Linked DNA regions of Homo sapiens: region 2 is linked to region 1. The links are contacts of gene promoters, found by promoter capture Hi-C in human tissues and cell types (Jung and others, 2019). All regions are on one chromosome and are shown on one strand. The core of a region is centred on a gene start or on the middle of the fragment in contact, and the rest is flanking DNA. Distances in the headings are between cores, read along the strand shown. Region 1 holds the start of FAM118A (family with sequence similarity 118 member A). Region 2 has its middle 27 kb from the start of RIBC2.

Region 1 (4,184 bases), core at 493-2,992:
TTGCATTAAAAAAAATTTTTTTTGAGACAGAGTCTCGCTCTGTTGCCCGGGCTGGAGTGAAGTGGCATGATCTCAGCTCACTGCTGCCTCTGCCACCCGGGTTCAAGTGATTCTCCTGCCTCAGCCTCCCGAGTAGCTGGGATTACAGGTGTCCGCCACCACGCCCGGCTAATTTTTGTATTTTCAGTAGAGATGAGGTTTTGCCAGGTTGCCCAGGCTGGTCTGGAACTGCTGACTTCAGGTGATCCACCTGCCTCAGCCTCCCAAAGTGCTGAGATTACAGGCGTGAGCCACCGGCCTTTTTTTGCATTTAAGTCGCACCTCCAGGGGTTGGGGAGCTGTATGCAGTGGTGGTTACATGTGTGGGCTGAGGCATGGAACTACACAACCTCTTGGGCCTGAGCTTCCCCTTGTTAAACTGGAATAACAATGAAGACGCCTTCCTCATAGGGTTGTTCCAAGAACACCATGAAGGAACGCATGCAAAGTGCTCAGGGAGTGCCTGACCCCACATACAGAGCACCCAGGGGCTGCCCTCTTCATCCCAGAGTCACTGCTCCCACTGTTTTCTGGGCTCTGGCCCCCCCTAAAATTTCACAGGCCGCTAACACAACACTACCTTCTGTCACAAAATGAGAGCTTTCTGGTGGGCTAGGGTAGGGGGAGATATTAACAGCCAACTTTAAAATCAGGCAGGAAAAAAAGGTGCCAAGGAGACAGGAAGTAATAAATGACTCCAGGTTGGGCAGGGCAGGCTGGGAAGAGGAAGTGGATTGGGTCTTGTTTAGGTAAAAGACTTCAGTGGCAGACAAAGGAGGAGTAATAAGATCGCTAGGGGGCCCGTGCCCAGCCCACCCACGCACAATCTCAGTCCTCGCAATACCCACAAGGTAGGTGCTAGGATCACACCCTTTACGGACGCGGCACCTGCGACAGGGATGCGCGAGGAGTCAGGGGGCCTCGCCGGATCGAACCTAAGCTGGGGAAGAGTATTTCTTGTATTTTTAGGAGAAATTCTCAGCCTCGGGGAAGAGTATTTCTTGATGAGGGAAGAGCGCGGGGAAGACACTCACGCACGCACAAACATGTGGGCGGCCATGGTGTGCCCAGCGCCGTGCTGGCTTCTGGGAACCCCCAGTGGACAAGACGGACAAGGTACCGGCTCTCAGGGGAAGTGGGAGCCAGTCACAAGCGTACCTAATTTCGGAGAGTGACAAGTACTCTGAAAAAGAAAGAAGGTAGGGCTGGTGACTGGCCAATTTAAGCGGGCAGGAGTCTGCTGGGGGACGGAGACCAGCCTCAGGTCTGGGTTGGGGACAGAAGCTGTGCCTAAGTGTGGTGCAGGATGCAGTTGCAAAGGAGCGCTTCCGATCGCACTTGATGCTCGCCACGTCCCTGCAAAGTGCTCCCGCCCCCTTTCTGCAAATGAGGAAACGGGACGCGCGGCTCGCCGGGCCAGGTAGGGCTAGGACGCGGACTCTAGGCCCAAGCGCTCCCCAGCGCAAGCCCTCCCCCGCACATCCGACCGCGCCTGCGCTGGAGACCCCGGGGGCGTGGCCTCCCCGGTGGGCGGGACCGTGGTCACCGAGGTGGGCGGTGCCAGAGGATCTGGCGGCGGGGCGGGGCGGGGCGCGCGTCCTGGCTTCGCCCTTCCCCGGGGCGGGGCCTCCGGGGACCGCGGGGCCGTTGGTTTCGGGACGGAACGTTCACGCGGCTGGGGCGGGCGCGCGGGGGAAGGGTTTGCGGCGGCGCCGCTGCCGGCTAACGCGGAGGGGCGCCTGGAGGCGGCGTGGCGTCCGCTCTGGCTCCGACTCCGGCTCTCGCTCTCGCTTCTAGCCCGCGTGCCTGCGCAGTCCCCTCCCCGAGAACCATCCCCTTGCCCCGCCCAGCGTCAGGGGTGCGCGGCCGCCGAGAGACCCCGGAGGCGTAGCCGGCTGCGGAGGCGAAGAGGTGGCAGCGCGAGCTGGGACCAGCGTCTCGGAGGCGCCGCAGGTGAGGGGGCGGGGCGGGCCCGCGGTCCCTGCATCCGGAGCCCCTGGGGACCCCGAGATCCTCAGGATCCGCCCCGGCCCCGGGGCCACCCCAGGACTCCCTCTCAGCTCTTCCCCTGGAGCCCCTGCCCCCGAGACCCCCTCAGGATCCGCCCTGCCCCTCCAGGCCCGCGAACCCCGAAACTCCAAGATTTTCTCTGGACTCCGAGACCCCCTGAGGACCCCGGCCGCTAGTGGGCCCTGAGAACTGTTGGTTCCGGAAACTCTCGAGGTTCCCTTGGGACTTGCTTCCAGCAACCTCCTCAGAAGCCCCCAGGCCCGGGGCATCTTCCTGTGGGGAGCCGTGGTTCCCAGTGTCCTTAGCCCCGCGAGACCCCGGGTCCCCGTGCCGCCCACCCTGAGGCTCCCTCTCCGACCTGATCTCAGGGCTAGGTTTCTCCAACTTGAGGTCCCTGGACCTGCGGGGCGTGGGTGGAAGTGTTCCCAGGTCTGGTGATAACTTAAGACGGTAACAGCGCGCCCGACGACCACCTCCTAAGCTGTGGTCCCCGCGCCTGCAGGTGCAGGGCCGGGTTTAAGTTTTAATGTTCTGCTGAGACTCAGGTGGCCCCACAGGACAGTCTATAGAGCAGGAGACCTGAGGTGGCCGAGGGCGGCCGAACCGGGGAGGGAGCGAGTTAGGGCACATGGGGACGCTTTTAGGTTGTCTCCTCCTTAATTTTTTCATTCAAGGAACTAACATTTTGTTTTTGAATGCCTGATAGGCTCCAGGAATTGACACTGGAAATAGAGATGAGACGGTCCCTGCTGTCAGGGCCTAGGGACCTGGGGCATAAGACAAGTAGGTCGTTTTTATCTGGAGGAAGCTGTGTCGTCGCTGGCAGGGAACCCATCTGGGTGGGCATGGGATTCTGGGAAGGGGTGGGTGTTAAGGAGGGCGTCTTAGGAGTCGTGGGGAGGAGATGCTAAGCAGCAGGTGAGCTGATTCTTGAAGGTTGAGCTAGAGGAGAAGTTTGCCAGGGTCATTCCAGGCAGAGTTTCAGGGGACAGCCAGTATGTCAAAAGGCAGAGAGGCTGCCACGGCACACAGTGTTGGAAGGCGGGAGGTGTGGCTGGAGCACACCTAATGAAGGTGGCGTGGGAGTGAATGCTAACTGCGGAGAACCCAGCTTTGCTCCCGGAGGCCCACCGTGCCCTTGGCCCTTTCTTGAACGACTGCACCTGCCATTGTCCTGAGAAATGATCCAGCTGAGCTGAAGGAAGGTGGGAGGTGGTCAGGGGGAGAAGTGAGGGAAGTGTCTCGCTAGAGACCTGGTATGGGAGAAGCTGGGACTTTTGCAGAGTACTGGGTTTGAGGTGGGAGTGACAAGAAAGAGGGTGTGATTCTGAGAGCCAGTCAGGACCAAAGCATGCCCAGTTTAAGCTGAGTGGAGGGTTTGGTACTTAAAGGGAGTGGGTGGCCATTGAAGGGCTTTGGGAGGAGAGGGGCGGGAGTTGGTGTGTTTTTGAACCATCCATGTGGCTGTGGTGGGGAGACTTTTTTGGAGGAAGCAAGACCCTATGAGAGATGGGGGTGACCTGGACCAAGGCGGTGGTAGTGGGGGACTGTGGCTTTCTGGAACGGGGCTAAGCTTCTGAAAGCCCAGGCCCAGAAGACTGGTTCCCGCTCTTTCCTGTCTGAGCCTGGGGTCTGAACTTTAAGTGAGGTTTTTGTCCTATTACCGTAGGGTCTGTGGTCGCCTTAGTGCTTCATGGTGACTGTGTGTGTGTGCTTCACCATAGTCTAATGACCACACAGGACGCAGTGGGGCAGGGTGGGGAGAGGCTGAGTCTCAGAGGTGGGCCAGGACCATGCTGGGCTAGGGGTCCTGAAGAGAACCTGTGTGTGGAAAAACCACCCATCGTGCTTTTTCTATTATCTCACTCAACGACAATCAACAGAGATGTCTTCTGTGACCAAATGTGAGGAGAGGTTTCTCCCTGCCACCAAGCGGGCAGTCATTTGTGCAAGAGACACCAACTGGGTATCTTCCAATTCAGTTCTGATACTACCTGGAGATAGCATCAAATCTCGCAAGTTGAGGGCTCAGTCCCCCAAGACTGCCCTCCACCCCTTCGGACACCAGTCACAAGCCTGAGCCTCTGGAACTTCTGATCGATCAGCTTCAAGTTGGGGTTCCCATGACCCTTCCT
Region 2 (4,184 bases), core at 950-3,449, 130 kb after region 1:
CACCACGCCCGTCTAATTTTTGTATTTTTAGTAGAGTTGGGTTTCACTGTGTTGGCCAGGCTGGTATTGAACTCCTGACCTCAGATGATCCACCCACCTTGGCCTCCCAAAGTGTTGGGATTACGGCATGAGCCACTGCACCCAGCCTGACTTTTCAAAAAAGGCAAAGCTATAGAAACAGTAAAAACATCAGTGGTTGCCAGGGACTGAGGGGAGGGAGGGATGAATAGGCAGAGAGAGCACAAGGATTTTTAGGGCAGTGAAACTTTGCTGTGTGATGCTGTAACCTTGGGTATATGTCATTATACATTTGTCAAAATCCACAGAATGTACACAGGGTGACCCCTAATGTAAATTATAAACTCTGGGTGATGATGATGTGTCAATGTTGGCTAGTCAATTGTAACAAATGTACCACACTAACATGAGACATTAATAATAGGGGAACTAGGGGCCTATGGGAAGGGAGCATATGGGAACCCTCTATACTTGTTACTCAATTTTCTTGTAAACCTAACACTGTTCTAAAAGATAGCCTATTCATTTTAAAATGAAGCCATAAGATAAACAGGAAGAAAAATAGAGTCATTTGCACATGGTTCTTTATTCTGTGTTCAAGTTCTTATGTTTAGAATAATGGGAAGGGGGCCAGGCACGGTGGCTCATGCCTGTAATCCCAGCACTTTGGGAGGTCGAAGTGGGAAGATGACCTGAGGTCAGGAGTTTGAGACCAGCCTGGCCAACATGGTGAAACCCTGTCTCTACTAAAAATACAAACTAGCCAGGCATGATGGTGCGCACCTGTAATCCCAGCTACTCAGGAGGCTGAGGCAGGAGAATCTCTTGAGCCCGGGAAGCGGAGGTTGCAGTGAGCTGAGGTCACACCACTGTACTCCAACCTGGGCAACACAGCAAGACTCTGTCTACAAAAATAAAAATAAGGCCAGGTGCTGTGGCTCGCGCCTGTAATCCCAGCACTTTGGGAGGCCAAGGTGGGCAGATCACGAGGTCAGGAGATTGAGACCATCCTGGCTAACACGGTGAAACCCCATCTCTACTACAAATACAAAAAAATTAGCCGGGCATGGTGTCGGGTGCCTATTGTCCCAGCTACTCAGGGGGCTAAGGCAGGAGAATGGCATGAACCTGGGAGGTGGAGATTGCAGTGAGCCGAAATCATGCCACTGCACTCCAGCCTGGGCAACAGAGTGAGACTCCATCTCAAAAAATAAAAAATAAAAATAAATAAATAACATAAAAATAAGGCCAGGTGCGGTAGCTCACGCCTGTAATCCCAGCACTTTGGGACACCGAAGCAGGTGGATCACGAGGTCAGGAGTTCAGGACCAGCCTGGTCAACATAGCGAGACCTCGTCTCTACAAAAAATTTAAAAAATTTTAGGCCGGGTACAGTGGCTCATGCCTGTAATCTCAGAACTTTGGGAGGCTGAGGCAGGTGGATTACCTGAGGTCAGGAGTTTGAGACCAGCCTGGCCAACATGGTGAAACCCTGACTCTACTAAAAATACAAAAATTAGCCAGGTGTGGAGGTGCACACCTGTAGTCCTAGCTACTCAGGAGGCAGAGGCATGAGAATCACTTGAACCAGGGAGGTGGATGTTGCAGTGAGCTGAGATCATGCCACTTCATTCCAGCCTCGGGTACAGAGTGAGACTCTGTCTCAAAAAAACAAGCAAAAAATCACAAAAAGACCTTTACAGAAATGTTTATAGCATCTTTATTCATGATAGCACCAAACTTGGATCAACCAAAATATCTATCAACAGGTGATCAGATAAACAAAAGTTATATTCCTATCACTCACAGCTGAAAAGAAACAAACTGCTGATATACCCGTCAAAACGGCAGAATCAGAAATCATAATCAGGGCGGGGCGCAGTGGCTCAGGCCTGTAATCCCAGCACTTTGGGAGGCCAAGGGGGCAGATCACGAGGTCAGGAGATCAAGACCAACCTGGCTAACATGGTGAAACCCCATCGCTACTAAAAACACAAAAAATTAGCCGGGCGTGGTGGCATGTGCCTGTACTCCCAGCTACTCAGGAGGCTGAGGCATGAGAATTGCTTGAACCCGGGAGGTGGACGTTGCAGTGAGCCAAGATTACGCCACTGCGCTACAGCCTGGGCAACAGAGCAAGACTCCATCTCAAAAAAATAAATAAATGAAATAAAAAATAAAAATAAAAAATTAGCTGGGCATGGTGGTGAGGGGTGGGGTGGGGGGTGTTCCTGTAATACCAGCTACTTGGGAGGCTGAGGCAGGAGAATTGCTTGAACCCGGGAGGCAGAGGTTACAGTGAGCCAAGATCGCACCACTGCCCTCCAGCCTGGGTGACAAGAGCGAAATTCTGTCTCAAAAAAAAAAATCATAATCAGAAACATTGTAACAGATACAAAGGAGTTCACAGTTTACAATTCTATCTATGGGGAGTTCCAGAATTGGGATAACTATTCCATCAGTGCTTGCCTGGGACAGGGTGAGGGGGTTTGATGGCAAACAGGCATGAGGCTACTTTTTGGAGTGATGGAAACGGACAGAAAAAGAAAACCCAACCACACTCCTACCCCTGACAGGACTGCAAAGGGAGGACCCCTAAGAAACCGGGTACCATCTGTTATGCATGCAGCAGGACGAGCCGCAGACAAAACTCCTCAGACACTGAGTTAAAGAAGGAAGTGGTTCTTTCGGCCGGGAGCATCAGGTAAGACTCCTGTCTCAAGAGCCGAGCTCCCCCAGTGAGCAATTCCTGTCCCTTTTAAGGGCTCACAACTCTAAGGGGGTCCGCGCGAGAGGGTCGTGATCGATTGAGCAAGCAGGGGGTACATGACTGGGGGCTGCATGCACCGGTAATCAGAAGGAAACAGAACAGGACAGGGATTTTTGCAATGCCTTTCCATACAAAGTCTGGAATCTATAGATAACATAACCGGTTAGGTCAGGGTCGATCTTTAACTACCAGGATTAGGTCAGGCAGGCCCAGGCCTGGTTTCGGGTCTGGTTCCTAGGCGCCGGGCTACCTGCATTTCGTTTCGCTTTTCTTTCCTTTTCTGAGTATAAAACAAGATAAAACAATATGAGAGAGTCTGTCTCTCTTCTCTCATGTGCAGTGAGCTGTTGCTGTCTACTGGAGAGCTGTCCACCAGCAGGTGGCACATCTATCTCTCGTGCTCCCAGCATAGCCTCTGGCCATCTGGTTTCCACCTGCACCGGGTCTCCCTCTGCAGAAGCGACAGCCACTTTGGAATGTTGGTGCAATGAGGTGACAGGTCCCCATGCTCCTGGGTGGAGCAGCGTCCTGAGCCTGGTTACAGGAGGGATCATGGGGTGAAGGTTGGGGATGGAGCAGGGGCCTCTAGAGCACCTTTTCCAAAGAGACATGTTTCCTTTTCTTTTCTTTTCTTTTCTTTTTTTTTTTTTTTTTTGGGACAGAGTCTTGCTCTGTCACCACCCAGGCTGGAGTGCAGTGGTGCGATCTCGGCTCACTGCAACCTCCGCCTCCCGGGTTCAAGCGATTCTCCTGCCTCTGCCTCAGCCTCCCAAGTAGCTGGGACTACAGGCGCATACCACCACACCCAGCTAATTTTTTGTATTTTTAGTAGAGACGGGGTTTCACCGCGTTAGCCACAATGGTCTTGATCTCCTGACCTCGTGATCCACCTGACTCGGCCTCCCAAAGTGCTGGGATTACAGGCATGAGCCACCGCGCCCAGCAAGAGGCATCTTTTCAACCATATGGATTGTGCCCACGTGATGTTAAGAGAGTGGTGAAAAGAAGCTGGAGGATGCCGAGTGAGAATGAGGCTGTGAGTGACACAGAGTAGGTAGTTGCCAGGTGGGGCTTCATCTGTGCTTGCCCCGACCAAGTAAAGGCCTTGATCCTCCCCCACCCACCACCTCATCCAGCCCACCCCCAGATTCATGCTCCCCCATCTTCGAACCTCACTTGCTCTCTGCCCAGACCTGGCAAAGTCAGTTTCATCTACTGAGTCTGGAAGGTCTGCCTTCCTTTCTTCTTCCAGCGAATGAAAGATGAATCCAAAGTCCCTGGGGCCAACCCCCAGCATGGCCCCCAGAAGTAAACAGGAATGGGAATGAGGGCAGATGGAATGTCTGCGAGTCAGTGGGTCTTTTCTTTTCACCAGACGTTCCAGAAAGCTCTCCAA

Evidence for each region. Contacts are between HindIII fragments. The study calls those that stand out against the background at their distance.
Region 2: a contact is called between a fragment that was not itself captured here and the fragment with the promoter of FAM118A in region 1, in 1 of the 25 tissues and cell types used here (aorta).

Annotation. Positions count from the first base shown.
Region 1 is chr22:45,308,192-45,312,375 of GRCh38, forward strand. FAM118A (family with sequence similarity 118 member A) reads left to right here and starts at 1,743. Exons shown (of 9, transcript NM_017911.4): 1 at 1,743-1,992. RefSeq lists a silencer at 1,409-2,088 and an enhancer at 2,805-3,613. The HindIII fragment of the contact is 15,582 bases long and covers 1-4,184 here.
Region 2 is chr22:45,438,189-45,442,372 of GRCh38, forward strand. No RefSeq gene overlaps it. Among named protein-coding and RNA genes, the nearest start is that of RIBC2, 27 kb to the left of the region's middle. RefSeq lists an enhancer at 4,163-4,184. The HindIII fragment of the contact is 9,206 bases long and covers 1-4,184 here.